2 separate regions of the Homo sapiens genome follow, and region 2 is linked to region 1. Evidence: promoter capture Hi-C in 16 types of primary human blood cells and fetal thymus (Javierre and others, 2016). All regions are on one chromosome and are shown on one strand. The core of a region is centred on a gene start or on the middle of the fragment in contact, and the rest is flanking DNA. Distances in the headings are between cores, read along the strand shown. Region 1 holds the start of PAX8-AS1 (PAX8 antisense RNA 1). Region 2 has its middle 24 kb from the start of IL1RN.

The links. The method cuts DNA at HindIII sites, captures the fragments that hold promoters and counts their contacts. A CHiCAGO score of 5 or more calls a contact.
Region 2: a contact is called between a fragment that was not itself captured here and the fragment with the promoter of PAX8-AS1 in region 1, in 2 of 17 cell types (M2 macrophages and M0 macrophages). The highest score is 5.3, in M2 macrophages.

What each region holds. Positions count from the first base shown.
Region 1 is chr2:113,232,849-113,238,249 of GRCh38, reverse strand. PAX8-AS1 (PAX8 antisense RNA 1) reads right to left here and starts at 1,981. Exons shown (of 6, transcript NR_015377.2): 1 at 1,628-1,981. It overlaps PAX8 (paired box 8), which reads left to right. Exons shown (of 12, transcript NM_003466.4): 8 at 1,529-1,649; 9 at 2,668-2,856. RefSeq lists a silencer at 2,565-2,644 and an enhancer at 2,895-3,084. The HindIII fragment of the contact is 8,895 bases long and covers 1-5,394 here.
Region 2 is chr2:113,100,927-113,106,122 of GRCh38, reverse strand. It overlaps a transcript of IL1RN not described here. Among named protein-coding and RNA genes, the nearest start is that of IL1RN, 24 kb to the left of the region's middle. The HindIII fragment of the contact is 5,174 bases long and covers 1-4,970 here.

The DNA of each region.
Region 1 (5,401 bases), core at 732-3,231:
AAGATACAAAAAATTAGCCTGGCATGGTAGCACGCACCTGTAATCCCTGCTACTCGGGAGGCTGAGGCAGGGGAATCACTTGAACCCAGGAAGCAGAGGTTGCAGTAAGCGAAGATCGCACCATTGCACTCCAGCTTGGGCAACAAGAGCAAAACTCCGTCTACAAAAAAAAAAAAAAAAAAAGGCCCTAAGCAACTCCACCCTGCCTCTAAGTGGGCCCCCTTGGAAGGCATGGAACCAGAGCACCATTTAGTCAATAATTGCTGCTATGTGCTAATGGTGCCCTGGTGGCCTCCAGAATTGACTGCAGCTTCCAAAAGTGCCCAGCATGCAACCGGAAAGTGCTGTGGATCTTTGCAGAACCCAGCTCGATGGAAATCACTGAAAACAATTGCCTTTAGTGGCACTGTTATGTAACTACTGAGCATTCCCTGAATTCAGCTTTGCACATCTCACGTAGCAGGTATGTGACGAGTGTGAAGGTATGTGGGGAATGGGTGTGTTCTTTTTTCTGCGCTATCTGCTTCCCCAGTGGAAGGAGGCCATGGTGAGGATGAGGTACACTTACCTTTAGTTAAACAAGTTCTTTTCGGAAGGAGTACCTAAGGTCATAGCTGTGCTCCTGGGAAGGGGAGGCCAGGAGGCATCTAAAATGAGGTCTTACTGATGAAGACCCCCAGGTACTTGACAAAGAGTGTTTCCAACAAAAACAACTCTCAATACCATTTTCAAGCCGAACTTGCACACTTCTATTTGTTTGGATGTGGAGAGAGAAAAGAAGAAATCCACGTGGTGGGTAAAGCACCTGGGTCCACAGCCGAAAAATCCCGGGTTTAGTCTGTTTCACTATACAAAATTGGGCCATTTACCTGAGTTCCAGGCTCCACATATAAAACACAGACATAATATTACTCACCCATGTCACTGGGCTGCTGGGGGACTCTACTAGGACAACAGAGGCAAAGCTCTGATATAAGCTCTTTGCAAATGTAAGAAGTGGTCCTTATGTCACCCAGTTTAGGGCAGTGGTTGAGAGCAGACACATTCTGATCCCTCGAATCTGAATCCTATCTTTGGCCCATCTGGAAGTGGGACAAGTTTCTTAAACCTTTGTGCCTGGGTTTCCTATCTGGGGAAGAATAAATTAACAGATGCAAGGACCCTGAACAGTCCGGTTGGAGACTGCTCCAGTCCTTGGCACCGTCCTGCATTCTGTGGGTCCCAACAGTGTGGTGAAACCAGGAAGCCGACCAGCCATCCAACCAGGGTGTGGTCCTCTGGCTGAGACTCTCTATCCCACGTCTGGGCACCCATGCTACCAGCTGGCCTTGAATTCCAGGGATGCGGGAGGACAATGAGCATGAACGAAACGTGCCGAGTGGAGTTGAGAACGTAAAGGAAGAAGGGGGCGATGAGGACCTCTCCTGGGGAGATGAGGGCTGCCAAGTCCTAAGACACAGGCTCAGGGTCTGCAGGAAGGTCGGCTTGTTGGATCGTCTCTGTGCGCTGACTTCTCTTTGCTCCCCAGGGCCTCTACCCGCTGCCCTTGCTCAACAGCACCCTGGACGACGGGAAGGCCACCCTGACCCCTTCCAACACGCCACTGGGGCGCAACCTCTCGACTCACCAGACCTACCCCGTGGTGGCAGGTACAACGCCCGGAGCCTCCCTGGCAGGTGGAGGGCGGGGGACTGAAGAGCTTGGCTGGCTGTCAGGCGGAAGGTGTGGGGCCCTGGCCTGGAGAGGAGAGGCGGGCTGTGCCGGCCGGGCCGCCAGGTGGGCCCAGGGGTCGCGCCTCCGGTCCTAGGCCGGGCCTCAAGGTGGGCCGAGGGGTCGCGCCTCCAGTCCTAGGCCGGGCCTCAAGGTGGGCCCAGGGGTCGCGCCTCCGGTCCTAGGCCGGGCCTCAAGGTGGGCCGAGGGGTCGCGCCTCCAGTCCTAGGCCGGGCCTCAAGGTGGGCCGAGGGGTCGCGCCTCCGGTCCTAGGCCGGGCCTCAAGCTGGGCCGAGGGGTCGCGCCTCCGGCCCTAGGCGGCTCCCGTAAGGTGGGCCGAGGGGTCGCGCCTCCAGTCCTAGGCCGGGCCTCAAGGTGGGCCCAGGGGTCGCGCCTCCGGTCCTAGGCCGGGCCTCAAGGTGGGCCGAGGGGTCGCGCCTCCGGTCCTAGGCGGCTCCCGCAAGGTGGGCCGAGGGGTCGCGCCTCCGGTCCTAGGCCGGGCCTCAAGCTGGGCCGAGGGGTCGCGCCTCCGGTCCTAGGCGGCTCCCGCAAGGTGGGCCGAGGGGTCGCGCCTCCAGTCCTAGGCCGGGCCTCAAGGTGGGCCCAGGGGTCGCGCCTCCGGTCCTAGGCCGGGCCTCAAGGTGGGCCGAGGGGTCGCGCCTCCGGTCCTAGGCCGCTCCCGGGTCTCCGCGCTCCCTCCTGTGGGAGAGGCGGGCGCACACACGCCTTCCGGGTCTCTCCATTTTCGCTGCAGAAGCGCAGCAGGGAGGTCTAGCTTCTCTCTCCCCGCCTTGCCACGCCTCGTGGGCCCCGGCTCTCCCCAGCCCAGACTCTGAGGGCAGCTGAGCCTGCCCCGCGCCCCGCCCGCACCCTCCACATCCCACGGCTTGGCTTGTGCGTGTTCCCTCCCCGCCATCTCACACCCCTCTCTCCTTGTTGTCTCCCTCCCTCCGGCAGATCCTCACTCACCCTTCGCCATAAAGCAGGAAACCCCCGAGGTGTCCAGTTCTAGCTCCACCCCTTCCTCTTTATCTAGCTCCGCCTTTTTGGATCTGCAGCAAGTCGGCTCCGGGGTCCCGCCCTTCAATGCCTTTCCCCATGCTGCCTCCGTGTACGGGCAGTTCACGGGCCAGGCCCTCCTCTCAGGTACGACAGGGAGGTCCCGGGGCCATGCAGCTATGGCGGCGGGTGGGACGGGGGTCCTCAGGGCAGACCGCCAGCCCCCTCTCTGGCCTCAGTCTCATCCACCCCCACCCTGTTCCCTAATTCCTCCGGCAACTTTTGGAGGCGCCAACATGAAGTTCTCTGTGACGGGGAAGACATGCTCGGAAGGGGCGGATGCTGTAGGGGTGCCGGGGATGCACCACCCCAAGACCCCATGGAAAAGCAGGAACCCTAAGGCCGGGAGCCGGGTGCTGTAACGTAGCAACTTGGCCTTGGTAAATGCATAAATAGATAGAAGGAAAAATGAACATTTTGGAGGGAAAAAGGAATTGGCTTTTGGAGCCCATTTCTGGATCAAATTTCTAAAAAGGCCAAGGGTCAGTCCCAGTTGTGTTTCCATGATGCAGCTATCTTCATTCCTAGCTTAACAGCATCACCGGGAGGACAGTCAGACATCTGTTAAACATGATAAATTCAGTGATTCAACAACTTGAGAGGAGTGGGGGACCTCCCATCAGGAACCTCAACTGCCTCAAAATATTTAAAGCTGGAAGCACCGACCGGGCGAGGTGGCTCACCCCTGTAATTCCAGCAGTTTGGGAGGCCGAGGCAGGTGGATCACAAGGTCAAGAGTTCAAGACCAGCCTGGCCAAGATGATGAAACCCCATCTCTACTAAAATTCAAAAAATTAGGGGGTGTGGTGGCAGACACCTGTAATCCCAGCTACTGGGGAGGCCGAGGCAGGAGAATCGCTTGAACCCAGGAGGCATAGGTTGCAGTGAGCTGAGGTGGCGCCATGGCACTCCAGCCTGGGTGACAGAGCAAGACTCCATCTCAAAAAAGAAAAAAACAAATAAATAAAAATAAGTAAATCTGGAAGCACCTGAGGGAGCCTCTAGATCAAACCTCTTATGCTGATGAGGAACCTGGCCCAGGGAGGAGAAGGTCCCTGCCAAGGTCTCTGGGCAGGAGCACCATCTGTAGCTGGTTGAGGCCTGGGCCTGCACTGCATGAGTCAGACCTCAAGGGGAGCTGGCTCCTCCTGGCAGAAGGACCTTCGCTCATCCAGCCAGGGCCTGAGGAATGGCTGAGAGTCAAGCGCTTGGCTTGGGTTGGAGAGGGCCTGAGATGCAGTGAAAGTGGGAAGCAGAGACCCATATGGTCTTCAGATACCTCAAGGGCTTCCACAGGGATAGGACTATTTTAGATGTGGGCCCAGTGGGGGCCCAGGACCAGGGAAGGAAGCCAGCTAGCTCTCAGTTCAGCATTGGAGGAATCTCTTTAATAGCGGCACTGTCTCCAAGGAGTGTGGGTATTTAGTGACAGAAGTAAATGCCTCTTCACCTCCCACACCCTCCTACCCCGACGACCTTGAAATGCTGGAGCAGAGACCAGTGCGTGGGTGGGGTGTGTGAGACCTGTCACAGAGGCAGCCCAGAGTCAGACAGTCCATCTGGACCAGTGGTTTCAAATTTGGGCCTCTCAATGCTCTCTTGAAATGAAGCCTTTTACAGAAGACATGTATGCTCACCAGACCCCTGAAGAACTGCTCTTTTAGAAGGGGTCCCTGCCCCTAGAAAGCCCTTGGACTTCGAAACCACTGCACCAGAGGATTAAGACCTCTACAAGCCCAGAGTAACCACAGGGTCATGTGATAAAAGTCCCTGGACCCTTTTTTTTTTGTTTTTTTGTTTTTTGAGATGGAATCTCACTCTGTTGCCCAGGTTGGAGTGCAGTGGCGCGATCTCAGCTCACTGCAACCTCCACCTCCTGGGTTCAAGTGATTCTCCTGCCTCAGCCTCCCGAGTAGCTAGAACTACAAATGGGCGCCACTACACCCGGCTAATTTTTGTATTTTCAGTAGAGATGGGGTTTCACCATGTTAGCCAGAATGGTCTCAATCTCCTGACCTTGGTCCGCCCACCTTGGCCTCCCAAAGTGCTGGGGTTACAGGTGTGAGCCACTGCACCCAGCCCATGGACCCTTTTTTATAACTGGCTCTACATTTTCTTTCTGGCTGGCACCCGGGTTTTTTTTTTTTTTTCCTCCGTACATCCCAGCACCTAATGTGAGAAGTTTCCTTAGAAGAGAGGGACATCCAGTGTGTGGGCAGAGAGATGGTGTTTAAGGGTCTAAAGCGAGGAGTTGACTTGGAGTTCAAGAATTCAAGAGGGTGAAGGCAGCAGAGATGGGTCATTTGTTTTGACCAAAGTGATGAAAAGAGCAAAACCTGTGAGCTGAGTAAAATTATGTCAGCCAGAGAAAATGGGATGCGGGGTAGGGAGGGGAATGAGAGGATAGTGGAGAGGAAGGGAGGGGAAGGGAAGGGAGGGGAGGGGAGGGGAGGGGAGGGGGTGAGGAGAAGAGGTTCATGTCAGTTACAGGGAGTTACGCAAGCCTGCATGTCTTCTGAGAATGGCAGGCTAGAGCTGGCGGCGGTCATGGGGCAGGCAAGGGGTGAGGGTGTGGTGGTGCCCATGATGATGGGGAGCAGGTGCTGTGGAAGCCGCGGAGAAGCTTGGCAAG
Region 2 (5,196 bases), core at 1,134-3,633, 130 kb after region 1:
AGACAGAAAATAAAAATACAGAAAATGCTTAACTTTCATCAATAACAAGGGATTAATAGTTAAAATAAGCCATTAACAACTAATGAATTAGCAGAAAATAGGAAAAGCCCATTTTCCAACATTGGTGAGATGGCTATGAAATGGGATGCCAGCAATAGGCTCTTGTTCCAACTCTTCCAGAAGGTGATTGAGTGACATGTATCAAAAGTCATGAAAAGATTACTCATCTTTTGATCAACTAATTTCATTTCAGGGAACATTACAATATAAAATAATTCAAAGAATAAAAACCACATGATTATTTCAACATAGTTAAAAATAGCAAAACATTAGAGGTAACCTCAATGTGTTAAAAGGAAAATTAACTAATAATGCTACATTTATAGACAATTATACAGTTGTTTGAAATGCTTAATTTTGAATATGGGGTAGTAAACATGAAAAGTGCTTATAACACACTGTTAATGTCATCTCACCCAACTGGGGGATCAAAAAAGGGAAGAAGATTTCTGAGCTGCACAGTTCTCAGAAGAGATGGAACTCGGATGTCACTTTCTCCCAATTATAAAAAAGTTCTGAGCAGAAGGTTGTGCCTCATGATTGGATGACCATATTGTTTGAGTGGCAAACTGTGAAGCCTGTAACTACATATATAGAGTTTACATTTCTAATCAATTCTCACCTAAAATTTACCCTGATACATCTTTAATGAGTGACATAATGATTACTGAGCAGGATGATAAGTAAGCCCAAACATTTGTGTTGTCATGAGAGATGATATATAATCACCATGGCCCTAGTACTCAGCTGGAAATGTTAGGGTTTTCTTTTCACAGAATCTTCAGTCATTAGCTAGGCTAGCAGTAGCCCCTGACGTCATAAGCTCCTGACTCATCGTGTTCATCAGTCTAGTACTCACTCTTTCCAAACATGTCCACCATCTTCATGCCTTTCTATATATGTTCTCCCTCTACCCACAATGCGCTTCTAGCCAGAAACTCATCCACCCCTGAGCCCAGCTACGAGGCTACCTCCTCTGAAAGATCTCCTCCGTGCATTCCTCTATTGGTGTTACAACTTCCTTTCAGGGTTCCCATGTCTTTGTTTTTATATCTACATCACTACACTGTGTTATGGTAATTTGTGATTCCATCTGTTTTCCCACTGGGACTGGGAGTTTCTCAAAATCAGAACTATGTTTTAATTCATGGCAAAATAAATCAGATGTGGGATTTGGAGTTGGATAAACCTGGTTTTAAATTTCAGCTGGACCACTTACTAGCTACATGACCTTGCCCAAGTTACTGGGCCTTTCTGACCTTCTGTTTCTTATCAGTCCCATTATCAGTATAATGGGACTCAAAAAGAACCTGTCTCATAAAGCTCTTTGGCACACACTAAGTGCCCAATAAATGTTAGCCATGTACTCAGGCTTGTGGGCTACTGGGGTAAAGCAAGACCAAAGTCTTTGACTACTTGCTCAGCACCATACATAGAAACTAAAGGGAGGTGTTGAAATCCCAAAACGCCCCAGCTGCCTGAGCCAACAAGACTCCAACTCCAAGTCATCAGTTACTTTTCCGTCTCCTGGGAGCACTCAGACACTGCGGAAATCCCTTTGCATACCTTTTGCCCCCACCATGAGAAGGCCCAGGAATAGACATGTGGGGGCAGGAGGAGTCAGATTCTCTACCCACTACCCAGCCTTTCATCCCTCCCCTCACTGGGCCAACAGTCAGTGAGTCACTGCTAACATCCCCCAGAACACCCACTAGTCTTAGAGCTGGTGACTTCATGCTGTGAAGAAATTTTCCTCTGAGAAGCATCTCCTCCAGGTTACCAAAGATTCACTCCTCTCCAAGTACCATTGCCCTGAACTTTATTTACCTCTAACCTTTCAAAGTGACCAGCTAACACTGACAATACCTCTGCCTCACTTTGCATGTTACTAAGACTCCAGACATTTCTCAGGAACTCTCTTGACTTCCTTCCTCAGTGCTTCAGTAGAACCATAGTACCATGTAATGATGAAAATCACTCTGTCTAGTCTTAGTCACATCTCTTAACCCCTGGCCACTTACATGGGATGCTTAACTGAGAAAATTTGGTTTAAGAAAAAAAAAAAACACCCCTTGATGCCATAAAAATTAAATAAAATAACTTGGTGAAAGAACTAAAAACCTTGTAGGTACTCAACACATATTGAATATTACCTACTTTCTCCCTTTCAAAATATTGTTGCTCCTTCCTTTCTTTCTTTGAAGTCTGAGCTTTTGATGGACAGTTCCCCAATAATATTCATATGACACCCAGAATGTCCCAAACAGAATCCATCACCTTCCCACCCCACCCTCTGCTCTCCCCAACCATCTTTCTTCTGATTGCTGTATTTCTGTTGATAACACAACCCTTCTTGTATTAGTTTCCCATTGCTGCTATAACAAATTACCATAAACTTTGTGCCTTAAAACACAAATTTATCCTCTTACAGTTCTATAGGGCAGAAGTCTGACAGAGGTGACACTGGGCTCAAATCAAGGTGTCAGCACTGCTGTGATCTTTCTGGACTCTGGGGGAGAATCCATTTCCGAATCATTGCTAGCTGCTAGAGGCCACCCACATTCCTTGCCTCATGGCGGCATCACTCCAACCTCTCCGTTTATCAGCACATCTCCTTTGCAATTCAATCTCCTGTGTCCCTATTTTGAGAACGCTTGTTCTTACATTGGACACAACTGGATACTCCAGGAGAGTCTTTCTATCTTGAGATCCTTAGTTTAATCCCACCTGCAAAATCCTTTTTTCTATGTTAGGTAACACTTTAATTGACTCTAGACAGTAGGACACAGATGTCTTTGAGGGCCATAATACTACCTACTGCACTTCTTTCAGACTCCCAGGCCTGTGATATCAGGACCACCTGTGACTCCTCCACCTCCATTCCAATCCCATCTCCCCTCACAGGATGGAGTGATAGCACCAGGCCATGTGCCCACTCTGATCTACTGATACAGGCTGCCTGAACTATGATGCTGAGGACTGTGAAGTTGTGTCTTTGATTCCAAGAAAGTATTGTCCGATCAAGTAGTCATGTCTGCCGTGGGCATGGGATGTCAGGTCAGCATGAGTACTTTGCACCTCTATCCCAGCTCCTTCTGTGCCTTGTCAGGCCTCTGAGCCCAAGCTAAGCCAATGTATGCCCTGTGACCTGCACATATACATCCAGATGGCCTGAAGCAAGTGAAGAATCACAAAAGAAGTGAAAATGGCCAGTTCCTGCCTTAACTGATGACATTCCACCATTGTGATTTATTCCTGCCCCACCTTAACTGAGCGATTAACCTTGTGAAATTCCTTTTCCTGGCTCAGAACCTCCCCCACTGAGCACCTTGTGACCCCCACGCCTGCCCAAAGAGAGAAACCCCCTTTGACTGTAATTTTCCACTACCTACCCAAATCCTATAAAACCTCCCCACCCCATCTCCCTTCGCTGACTCTCTTTCAGACTCAGCCCACCTGCACCCAGGTGAAATAAACAGCCTTGTTGCTCACACAAAGCCTGTTTGGTGGTCTTTTCACACAGACGCACGTGACACGCCTGACCTCTCCTTCCCATGCCTACAGGCTTCCCCCTTCCCCAATTAGAGCTGCTTGTCCAAACCATTGCAATAGCTCTGTGTGAACTGAATCCCTCCACAATCCACATATCAAAGTCCTAACTCCCAGTGTGGCTGTATTTGAAGATAGAGCCTATAAGAAAGTAATTGAGGTTAAATAAGGGTGGGGCCCTAACACAATAGAATTGGTGTCCTTATAAGAAGAGGTAGAGACACCAGAGAGCTCTCACTGTCCCCGTGCCTGCACAGACACCAAGGAAAGGCCACAGTGAGAAGGTAGCTGTCTGCCAGCCAGCAAGTGGATGATCTGAGACTTGATCACAGCCTCCAGAACTGGGAGCAAATACATTCTTCCTGTTGGTTAAGCCACCCAGCCTGTGGTATTTTGTTATGGCAGTCTGAGGTGACTAAGACAATCTCCTTAAGAAAAAAAGTCTCGGGCGGGGCACGGTGGCTCACACCTGTAATCCCAGCACTTTGGGAGACCGAGGTGGGCAGATCACCTGAGTTCGGGAGTTCGAGACCAGCCTGACCAACATGGAGAAACCCTGTCTCTACTAAAAATACAAAATTAGCCGGGTGTGATAACGCACACCTGTAATCCCAGCTACTTGGGAGGCTGAGGCAGGAGAATCACTTGAACTGGGGAGGTGGAGGTTGCAGTGAGCCAAGATCACGCCATTGCACTCCAGCCTGGGTAACAAGAGAGAAACTCCATCTCAAAAAATAAAAATAAAAAAAGAATAAAAAAGTCTCTCTTCCCCAGCTCCAATCTGCCTTCTATGCTACTGCCAGATCTTTCAGAGCGGTGGTTTCTACATGTTGGTCCTTAGACCAGTGCCAGTTTTAATGATGAGCTAAATTAAATTAGAAAATCGAGAGCCCAGGGCTTGATATTTAAATATGTTGGGATGCTATTGTTAACTCTTCATTCTTGAGAAAGGCAGTCCTTTCTTCTGAGATCATGCTCACTGAGTGGAGAGGAAATGTAAAAATGGCCTTTCTTTTATGAAATAGTGGCTATAGTAGGTGCAACTTGTTATTTTTATTAATGTTCTTGTAAAAATTATAAGTTGTTTTCCCAAGTTTTTAAAAAGATTACAGGTATGAGATATTAAAATATCATTGAATGTCGGTTTTACATCACAGCTGTAATCACATCAGGCCTCCTGCTCCCAATCTTAAAATGTGAATGCCTCTTCCCACAGGTGGAAGGAAACCCCCTCGCTACCCTAACCCCTACTCCTCACCCCCACTGCGTCTACCAGAGAGGACAAAGGTCAACCAGCGAAGACAACTTTAAGACTCTTATCAGTCTGGAGATGGCACCAGGGGAATCTACATTAACAAGCTTTACAAACTAGCCTTTATCTGACATTTCGCCTTTCCACAAGTCACTACTCTTAGAGACTCAAAGTCCTTTTTAATTCCCTTGTCATGTCTCTAAAACTTTACTGTTCTTTGTTGAAGACACTATATAAGCTGGAATTCAAAGCCACCTCTTTGAAAGCTACTTATTCCCTGGGTGTCTCCCATGTATATAAGAAATATACATGTTAATTAACATCTGCTTGTTTTT